2 separate regions of the Homo sapiens genome follow, and region 1 is linked to region 2. Evidence: promoter capture Hi-C in 16 types of primary human blood cells and fetal thymus (Javierre and others, 2016). All regions are on one chromosome and are shown on one strand. Each heading gives the region's core, a stretch centred on a gene start or on the middle of the fragment in contact. The rest is flanking DNA. Distances are from core to core; before and after follow the strand shown.

Region 1 (5,523 bases), core at 2,925-5,424, 7.8 Mb before region 2:
ATGCATTCTGAAAGTTACTACAAGCTATTCAAAGATGAACTCAGAAAAATTTGGCCTGTTTGCAATCAGGAATGAAATGGAATAGAGAAAACCTATAAATCCAGGGATTTACATCGTTAGAAGAGGCAATTGTTTCCCAGTCCCGACTGGTAAAATATAAAATCAAGAAATACTTTTAGCAAGAAAGGACCTGGAAGAAACTAAGCTTTGAAGTAAGGATCAAGTCACAAAGTATGAACCTACTATTAAAACCTCAGGATAGGAGGCCGAGGAGGACGGATCACCTGAGGTCGGGAGTTCGAGACAAGCCTGACCAATATGGAGAAATCCTGTCGCTCCTAAAAATACAAAATTAGCCGGGCGTGGTGGCGCATGCCTGTAATCCCAGCTACTCAGGAGGCTGAGGCAGGAGAATCGCTTGAACCCGGGAGGTAGAGGTTGCAGTGAGCCGAGACTGTGCCATTGCACTCCAACCAGGGCAACAAGAGTGAAACTCCGTCTCAGAAAAAAAAAAAAAAGGATCAATTAAGATCTTACCCAGTATATACTTTCAACTGGACAAAATGGCTCTGGGAAAAGGAAGAAAGGTCTAACTCTCCCATCAAAACCCAATAAGCCCAAAGTGCTCAAAATCAAGTGAAGAGCAAGAGAGTGAGACGGCAAAAGAGAGACAGAGGAGTCAACAGGCAGGAGAGCAGGAAAGCAAAGAGATATGGCAAACCAAAGAAGTATGTCTGGAAAAGAACTTTGTGGCTATTGTCACATGGAACACCTCATATCAGATAGATAAGAAGCCTACCTACACATATTCAAGACTTAATGTCACTCTGCATCTCCCCAACTTTTAAAAGCTTATTTAAAAGCATATTTTCCAATGCCTGCTTTAGCTGTGGAAAAGGAAGACTCTCCGAGGGCAAATCCAGGAGTCATGGAAAACAATGGGCAGGGCAGCTTGGTGCTGTGACTGGATGGGTCTTTAAGGTTGTTTCCCTTGAATAAAGAATGAGGGAATTCCACCAGGGGAAGGAGAGTAGACCAAACATTTGGTGAACAGAAAGGGAGACAGAGTCTTTAGTGTTATTCCCCAAATATTCCTGGAGAGCCCTTTGAGACACCTGGTAGGATTATAGTGATCTAAAGAGGCATGGCCATGTGACTGCTTTGGCCAATGATGTATGGGCAGAAGTGATGTGTGCCATAAGTGGATGCTCTGACAGCCATGATGTTCCGAGTTCCTTCCCCACAGTCAGGATAGCTGTGAAAAGGGGTATCAACACGAGGCCTCCTTCAGCCTGAGCCCTTTAGTGACTACAATGAGCAGAGCTACCCTGCCAACCTACAACGGTCATGTAGCAGAAATGACCAACTTTCACTGGAATAAGCCACTGATATGTTAGGGTTGTTTGTTAGGGCAGCATAACACTGCCTTTCCTGACAGAACTGGGAGTGAGAGATAAGGCTGGAGAGAGAAGGAGTTGGATTGTGAAAAGCCCCTTCTCCAAGGCATAGGAATCGGAACTCTCCTGATTGTAAGGAAAAGCCAATGAAGGCTTCCAAGCAGGGGCGTTAACATGAACAGATTTGTTATTTTTTTGGATGAAATATGCTATTTCTCAACATAAGGAGAAGATCAGCCTACTAAACCACATGAGGCAGAGAGGAACACACAGAACCTTAGGCAAAAGATATATATTTATGCAAAGTCCTAAGTCTTGAAATTTCTAAATACAAGAGCTCTGAACGGAGTTACAGTCAGAGGATCAGGCAAGAAAATTTCTTCTATGCCACAAGCGCTATTTCCTCTGCAGATAACTAATACTCCACAAGAAAGTTTGCCAGAGTAGAGAAAATACAAAGGAATGTAACACAGACCTGAGGTCAATTTCCAGCTGCCTGTGTGACCTCAACAAAGATACTTAACCTCTCTGGGCCTATTTCCTCACATGTTAAATCTGGATAATAATATATGTCTCTCAAGACAGTTGTGGGGAGAAAACAGCGTATTTAAATTGCTTAGGAGAATGCCTGGCAGATAATAAGTGTTTAATACATGAAACTGATTTTTATTACTGTTATTAAAAAATATTTAGAACACCAACTCCCTGAATACAACAGAAAATGATTCAGGGCAACAGACAGAGGAGAATGTTCTCTCCTTGAGGAAGCAACTGGATCTTGTCATCACTGTATACCTACCTACCCCACCCCCTCCCCAGCTCAGTGCCTGGCTCACAGTAGGCTTTCAGTTACCCTCTGCAGATCAGTGAAAGCTAGGTGAGTGCCCGGAGTGAAGAAAAGTTGGCAGGTTTCCCACTGATACCAGCTGCTGTTGGTTTCTGAACACTCAAAGCCGCAAATACCTTAGGGCTGGGGGCAATGAACCCAAGGCTGAATTCCAAGTTCAGAAGCAGCGAAGTCTGAATTTAGAACCTAGGAACTTAAACTGCTGCAGGTCCAACTTCAAGCCCCAGTTTTAGACAGAGGCTTGGGAAAGATCTGACTTCTAACCCGGTTCCCCCTCCCCTCCTCCCCTCGATGCTTCTCACAGGAAAGTACACCTGGTCCTGCCAAATCGCACTCTTATATCCTGGCATCCTATCCAGGCTCTGCGAGGATGGAAACTGCGAGGCAGGGGAGGGAAGCGGGCTGTTTGGCCACCACCTCCCTAGTGCTGCAGGCGACCCTGTCACACTAACTCCTGGCAGCCCAGTGAGGTGGACGGCACCGGCCCCACCTGCAGATGAGGGAAATGAAGCTCGGAGGAGTTCCGTGATTTGCTTGCTTCACACTGTGGTAGCCTGGCCACGAAAGAACCAGGATTCCCGACTTCGGGATTCTTTCCACCACACACTTTCGTCCCTAAGGGGTGGGGGGCGGGGGGAGAATAAAATAACCGCGGAAAAGGAACCACTTACATGTGTCTAGCGCTTCCTAGAGGCTACCCAGGATATGCGCCCACCACCCGGCCGGGAGTGCAGAGATTTGAAGTCCAGGTTCTACCCCGGGCTCCGAGTACTACTGCGTGACTTTATGCGAGTGTCCGCCGCCTTCTGGGCTTGTTTTCCCGGAAGCAACTCGGCGCGGATGGAGTGTGTGTGTGCGCGCGCGCGCGCGTTATGTTGTGCGTGTTGTGTTAAGCGTGTGCGTGTTGTCCGGGGGCGGGAGGGGGAGTAGACTAACACCGGGGTTCCCCGAGTTTCGGATCGCCTACACGCTTGTTCCCATCTGGACCCTGTTACCCACCAATTGCGCCCACTATAAAAACTGCCCCTCCGAGGCAAAGCTGTGAACCCCCGCGCCCTTTCCCCCACGGTCCCGGAGGATGAAGTGGGGTGCAACGGAGACTCAGCTGAGCGTCCAGTTTCGGGCAATACAAATCTCTCGGCTTCTACGAGCAGCCAGACGACCCCGCGGACCGTCGCTCCTGAACTTGACCGAGATGCAAACTTCGGAGTGTTCTCAACGTGGGGGGCCGACTCTCGGGAGACCGCCCCTAAACTTAAGTCCCCTTAGGCTCGCCCCCACCTGGGACTTCACAGAGCCACCTTAAGGGCGGTATTCCCGCCCCCCCGGAAGTGCGGGGGGGTGGCAGCGTACTTGGATTCTCAGCCTCCAGCCCCGCGCGGTGGCGGCCGCCGGTGGATGACTTCGGGCCCCACAAGTGGGGAAACAACAACCACCCCTCGCCCGCACCCCTGGCCCAAAACAACTGGCCAGGTTCCCTGGCCTCCCGGGTCCCTGCATCCCCCGCATCCCCGTCCGCAGCCGTGAACTTGAGCCCCCCTCCATCAGAGGTTGCGAGCGTCCGCCCGCTCGCGGCAGCCACCGTCACTAGACAGTCAAACCCCAAGACGTCAGCCCACAATGCACCGGGCGGGCCGGGAAAAACGGCCCGGGGAGGGGACCGGGGAAGAGAGGGCCGAGAGGCGTGCGGCAGGGGGGAGGGTAGGAGAAAGAAGGGCCCGACTGTAGGAGGGCAGCGGAGCATTACCTCATCCCGTGAGCCTCCGCGGGCCCAGAGAAGAATCTTCTAGGGTGGAGTCTCCATGGTGACGGGCGGGCCCGCCCCCCTGAGAGCGACGCGAGCCAATGGGAAGGCCTTGGGGTGACATCATGGGCTATTTTTAGGGGTTGACTGGTAGCAGATAAGTGTTGAGCTCGGGCTGGATAAGGGCTCAGAGTTGCACTGAGTGTGGCTGAAGCAGCGAGGCGGGAGTGGAGGTGCGCGGAGTCAGGCAGACAGACAGACACAGCCAGCCAGCCAGGTCGGCAGTATAGTCCGAACTGCAAATCTTATTTTCTTTTCACCTTCTCTCTAACTGCCCAGAGCTAGCGCCTGTGGCTCCCGGGCTGGTGTTTCGGGAGTGTCCAGAGAGCCTGGTCTCCAGCCGCCCCCGGGAGGAGAGCCCTGCTGCCCAGGCGCTGTTGACAGCGGCGGAAAGCAGCGGTACCCACGCGCCCGCCGGGGGAAGTCGGCGAGCGGCTGCAGCAGCAAAGAACTTTCCCGGCTGGGAGGACCGGAGACAAGTGGCAGAGTCCCGGAGCCAACTTTTGCAAGCCTTTCCTGCGTCTTAGGCTTCTCCACGGCGGTAAAGACCAGAAGGCGGCGGAGAGCCACGCAAGAGAAGAAGGACGTGCGCTCAGCTTCGCTCGCACCGGTTGTTGAACTTGGGCGAGCGCGAGCCGCGGCTGCCGGGCGCCCCCTCCCCCTAGCAGCGGAGGAGGGGACAAGTCGTCGGAGTCCGGGCGGCCAAGACCCGCCGCCGGCCGGCCACTGCAGGGTCCGCACTGATCCGCTCCGCGGGGAGAGCCGCTGCTCTGGGAAGTGAGTTCGCCTGCGGACTCCGAGGAACCGCTGCGCACGAAGAGCGCTCAGTGAGTGACCGCGACTTTTCAAAGCCGGGTAGCGCGCGCGAGTCGACAAGTAAGAGTGCGGGAGGCATCTTAATTAACCCTGCGCTCCCTGGAGCGAGCTGGTGAGGAGGGCGCAGCGGGGACGACAGCCAGCGGGTGCGTGCGCTCTTAGAGAAACTTTCCCTGTCAAAGGCTCCGGGGGGCGCGGGTGTCCCCCGCTTGCCACAGCCCTGTTGCGGCCCCGAAACTTGTGCGCGCAGCCCAAACTAACCTCACGTGAAGTGACGGACTGTTCTATGACTGCAAAGATGGAAACGACCTTCTATGACGATGCCCTCAACGCCTCGTTCCTCCCGTCCGAGAGCGGACCTTATGGCTACAGTAACCCCAAGATCCTGAAACAGAGCATGACCCTGAACCTGGCCGACCCAGTGGGGAGCCTGAAGCCGCACCTCCGCGCCAAGAACTCGGACCTCCTCACCTCGCCCGACGTGGGGCTGCTCAAGCTGGCGTCGCCCGAGCTGGAGCGCCTGATAATCCAGTCCAGCAACGGGCACATCACCACCACGCCGACCCCCACCCAGTTCCTGTGCCCCAAGAACGTGACAGATGAGCAGGAGGGCTTCGCCGAGGGCTTCGTGCGCGCCCTGGCCGAACTGCACAGCCAGA
Region 2 (5,174 bases), core at 1,710-4,209:
CAATTAGAGAAAAAAATTACAAAATTTACTGGAGCACTAAGTTGTGTTGTAAAGATAGTAAAAGCAGTAATTAGAAAGGAGAAAGATCCTTACTGGCTTAAATTTTATGAAAGGGGTGGTCCTGAGAAAAGCATTTAGGAATTGGTATACAGAGTAATAACTAATATGTTTGGAGAGTTTTAAGGTTTATGAGGAATTTTCACAAGCATTTGATCATTCAACATTCAAAATCACAAGCTTTTTAGCCCAATTTTAGAGATAAAGAAATAGAACCAGAGAGCCTTTGTTAAAGAGCAGAGTTAGAACTCAAACCACAATTATTGACTATTAAATTTATGTTAGTGTGATACCAATATTTTATATTTTCCATGCATTTTCATAATTGTTTTTTCATTTATCAGAGGAAATAGTCCTGTGAGTAGCTGAAGTCAGAGAGATTAAATGACTCATCCAAGTTCCCTCAGCTAATTATTTGGAAAAGCAGTACTAATATATGCCTGAATGTCTAGTGTGTTCATCCCATTGTTCTACATACCACATTGTTTTAATTTCCAGATGGAGAGAAAGGAAAGAAAAAGGGAGCAACATGGGATTTGAATGGGTTCTGAGGTACACACGCATCATTACAGAGAAAAACTCTCAACTTTTTAGGACTGCATTAATCCTTGGCCATATAACTAGAAACAATTATTCACCTGCCTTATACTGAGGGTGGCCTATATGAATGGGGCAACTGAATTGCCACATTTATATTATTGGTGCTGTGTTTTGCCTCATGATTCACATTTGTGCTGACTTTTGGAATTACTTTCTTTTTAAAAAAATATTTATTTATTTATTTTGAAACAGTTTTACTCTGTCACCCAGGCTGGGGTGCAGTAGTGTGATCTTGGTTCACACTGCAACCTCCACCTCCCAGGTTCAGGTGATTCTCCTCCCTCAGCCTCCCTAGTAGCTGGGACTACAGGCATATGCCACCATGCCCAGCTAATTTTTGTATTATTTTTAGCAGAGATGGGATTTCACTATGTTGGCCAGGCTGGTCTTGAACTCCTGACCTCAAGTGATCTGCCTGCCTCGGCCTCCCAAAGTGTTGGGATTATAGGCATAAGCCACTGCCCTGGCCATGGAATTATTTTCTTACGGCTGAAAATTAAGCAAGACATTTTGATTCATGTGACTGTGGAGGGTTCTATTATCTAGCTAATTCTGGTCTAAACACAGATTAGTACTTAAGAACTGTAGGCCAGCCTATTTTCATTTAAGGAAACACACAGAATAAACTCAGATCATAATACAGTGCACTTCTTTATATTCAGTGAAACTGAACAATTAGGTCATATTTCTGATTTCTCATGAATATATTCCCAGTTTATGGAGCCTAGGCCTTGCTGGGTGTGGTGGTATGGCTCACACCTGTAATCCCCACTCTCAGGAGGCTGAGGTGGGAGGATGGCTTGAGCACAGGAGTTGGAAGCCAGCCTGGGCAACATAGTGAGGCCCTGTCTCTAAAAAAGTAAATAAATGATACAAGTTTAAAAAGTTCTTAAGGGAAGCCTAGGCCTTCATGCTACATGATGATTTCACTAGTTATTTTAGCTCTACAGGATAAAATCAGCAATCTTACTTCACATTTTCAAGCTTTTACATACTTTCCAAAGCAAGTAAATGCCCCATGACAATCCAGAAGCTGATATTTTCCCAAGTCAAGGATGAACAACTTCCACTGTCACACTTTCTCTAACCTGGACGACAATTACAAACTGTCACACTTCATTGTACATAGTCTTTGGCTGTTTTAGTTACAGAGGTTGTCAATTTCTGACCATGGGTTGAAACTTTCAATATTTGGTGAATATTCCAAAATAATTTCTTATGAAAATGAATAGGCCGGGTGCAGTGGCTCACGCCTGTAATCCCAACACTTTGGGAGGCCGAGGAGGGCGGATCACGAGGACAGGAGTTCGAGATCAGCTTGCCCAACATAGTGAAACCCCGTCTCTACTAAAAATACAAAAAAAACTTAGCCGGGCTTGGTGGCGGGAGCCTGTAATCCCAGCTACTATGGAGGCTGAGGCAGGAGAATCGCTTGAACCCAGAAAGCGGAGGTCGCAGCGAGCCGAGATCGCGCCACTGCACTCCAGCCCGGGCCACAGTGCGAGACTCCGTCTCAAAATAATAAATAAATAAATAAATAAATAAATAAATAAAAATAGACTGACTATATTCAAAGCTGGATTCAAGTTTTATCCCATTTGTAAGATGTCTCAGCTTAAAAAAACAAATATAACTGCAGCAGTAGAAAGGTTTTCCCTTTTTTCCCCCTTTGGAGCAACCCTATTAACTCGAGGTTGTTATTTCTCATAACTACCTTATCAATTAAAAAAAATGCTCCTCCTCTTCTCTGGAACGAGATTTTTACCTTTCTCAGCTTCCTCGTCTCTCCCATGTCTACCATGGCAGTCTGGTTACTTCTGTGTTACGGAGTCTGAGGATGCAGACGTCAGGGAGCTTGGGACTGGGTGTGACAGTGTGGATTCGGTTTTGACAGGTTGAGCGTGAGAGACTATATGAAGCTGTATTTTGCTGAAACATTGTAGAGAAAAACATATATTTCTGAAATGCTGTTTGTTAGACGAGTTGTAACAGTGTGTTTAGTTGGTTTGTGAGGGTGGTGTGTATTTGTGTGACTAACCACGTGAGGTGCACAATCTGGTCCCCGCCTCAGCTAGGGGGAGGCGCTATCCTGAGGCCTTTGCTTAAATCCAAACTGGAATAACCTGTTGCGAGACTTGAAGCTTCCGCAGCTGCAGGTTGCAGTCTCTGCCGCCAGCGCAGAGATCCTGGCCGGGTAGTCGCGCGCTCAGCGCTTGACAGGAGGGTGGTCACGTGGAGCCGCAAAGCGGCGCTTTGCGACCTCGATGACAGGCAAAATGTGCGACAGCCGTGGCGCTGGCCAACCAGGGGCGGAGGCGGCGGCCAGGGAGGAAGCGGAGGAGGCGGAGGCGGCCGCGGCGTTCGCCCGCCCGCTCGCTCGCTCGGTTTCCCCGCCCCCGCCGGGCTTAACGCCGCTGAAGGTATCCGGGTGCGCGCTGTCGCAACCTGCCCTCATCCTGGCCCGCGACTGTAAGACCGGACCCACATCCAGACCAATCTTCCTGTCCGGGCTGCTGCGACGCGGGCTCCGCAGGTTGCAGGCGGGCGGCCGGGGCGCCTGAAGGTTACCGAGTGCATGAGCGCCTAGCGCTTCCCGCGCTGCCCCGCCCGCTGGCCCGCCGACCCGCCCGCCGGCTCGCCCGCCAGCCCCTCGGCGCCCGGCGGCGGCGGCGGCGGTGGCGGCGACGGTCGCAGGAGGTGCCGTCTGCCTCCCAGGTGCGCGCTTCGCTCCCGGAGCCGCGGAACTCGGCGGCCGCCATGGCGTCCAACATGGACCGGGAGATGATCCTGGCGGATTTTCAGGTGAAGTATCTGGCCCTCTTCCCCTCCCACTTCCAACCTCGTGGGTTTCCGGTGCCACAAGGGAGTCTTCTTCCCAGCGTTTGAACGCTGCAGTGGTGTGTCATTTAGGCTTTTATACGGTGCGTGGCGTGTGTGTGTGTGTGTGGCGAGCTATGGAGAAGCGTATAATTTATATGCTATCATGAGTGTGTAGAATGTGTTAAGTACGGGTTGAATGGGATTGGAGGTATTAATGACTTGGGTTACAATGTGTGTGGAATGTGTAGTGTTTCCTGTATTATATGGGGGGACGTGTAGAGTTTTTGTTTTAATTGGTGTTGGACCATTAAGTATGGGATGTTTTGGGTGGTTCTGTGGGGAGAGATGTATGGAGTGTGAGCGTGGAGCGTGTGGTGTTATGGGCGTGGTGTATTTATATTGTATTAAGGGAAGAGTAAAAAAGCAGAATGATGAGATGGCGAGGGCAATGACAATGGGGTACTGAGGTCCTTTTCAAAGAGGAGTAAACATTTGAGACTTTGCCTAATTGGAATCTTTGGAGGGTAAGAAGATAACAAGGAGACAGATAAGACTATATATTCCAGAGTATCTCTGCAATGAATTCACAAGCTTAATAAATTACCTATTCATATTTGCGGATTCCCCTCCCCTACAGACTTGAATTGCTTGGTTGGTGTCCTTTCTCCAGGAATACTTTAAAGGATAAGTAAAGGCTGTTCTCTTAATAAACCCAGTCGTAGTGCCACTGACATGTAAGTATCTTAGGAAGGCCCTTTGAAAGTAGAACTGTATGCATTGTGAAAGACTTGGAGCTAGAACTAATATCCTGTGAGTGCTACCTTTGCCTTTTGATGTTTGGTGAAGGAATTATTTTAGTGAGATATTTTTGGCCATTTTGGCATCAACTTAGAAGCTACTGTCAAGTATAGGCAGACTTTTCCCTCTTTTTTAATACTCACATTGCACAGGTTCTAACACTAGCTTAGTAGGCAGTATTTTTCCTTGCTGAAATTTTGTTGGGCTTTTCTCTCTCTCTGTTCTATTAAGTTCCTTATTTTTTTTAAAATTAATTAATTTTTTTTTTTTTTTGAGACGGAGTCTCGCTCTGTCGCCCAGGCTGGAGTGCAGTGGCGCGATCTCGGCTCATTGCAAGCTCCGCCTCCCAGGTTCACGCCATTCTCCTGCCTCAGCCTCCCGAGTAGCTGGGACTACAGGCGCCGGCCACCACGCCTGGCTAATATTTTTGTATTTTTAGTAGAGACAGGGTTTCGCCGTGTTAGTCAGGATGGTCTTGATCTCCTGACCTCGTGATCCACCCTCCTCGGCCTCCCAAAGTGCTGGGATTACAGGCGTGAGCCACACTGCTCCCGGCCCTTATTTTTACAAATTAACGTTCAGATAACCATTTTCAGAGTTTGCTGTTTTGGTTACCCAGTGAAATCTGATATACAGGTATTAGGAATATGCATATATCTACAGTTTGATTAAACCATAACCTCCAAACTAATAAAGGAGTGTCCTTATAATAAAAGTTGACCATAAGATTTTGATGTTTTGTAGGTTTAGGATTGGCCTGAGGCTTTTTGCCTGCCTACATTTTAAAAAATTTTTCAATTAATTAATTAATTAAATTTTTTAGAGATGGGCCTTGCCATGTTGCCCAGGCTGGTCTTGAACTCCTGGGCTCAAGTGATCTACCCACCTCAGGCTCCGAA

Evidence for each region. Contacts are between HindIII fragments. The CHiCAGO score rates a contact against its expected background, and 5 or more counts as called.
Region 1: the fragment with the promoter of JUN here is called in contact with the fragment with the promoter of FAF1 in region 2 in 1 of 17 cell types (activated CD4 T cells); the score reaches 12.1 in activated CD4 T cells.

What each region holds. Positions count from the first base shown.
Region 1 is chr1:58,782,698-58,788,220 of GRCh38, reverse strand. It overlaps JUN (Jun proto-oncogene, AP-1 transcription factor subunit), which reads left to right and starts at 4,174. Exons shown (of 1, transcript NM_002228.4): 1 at 4,174-5,523. The coding sequence starts at 5,151. JUN-DT (JUN divergent transcript) reads right to left here and starts at 3,070. Exons shown (of 2, transcript NR_108106.1): 1 at 2,916-3,070. RefSeq lists enhancers at 2,983-3,728, 3,955-4,214, 3,729-4,476. The HindIII fragment of the contact is 7,855 bases long and covers 854-5,523 here.
Region 2 is chr1:50,958,052-50,963,225 of GRCh38, reverse strand. FAF1 (Fas associated factor 1) reads left to right here and starts at 2,959. Exons shown (of 19, transcript NM_007051.3): 1 at 2,959-3,459. The coding sequence starts at 3,415. It also overlaps a transcript of CDKN2C not described here. RefSeq lists silencers at 2,993-3,152, 3,263-3,312 and an enhancer at 3,623-3,672. The HindIII fragment of the contact is 1,270 bases long and covers 2,801-4,070 here.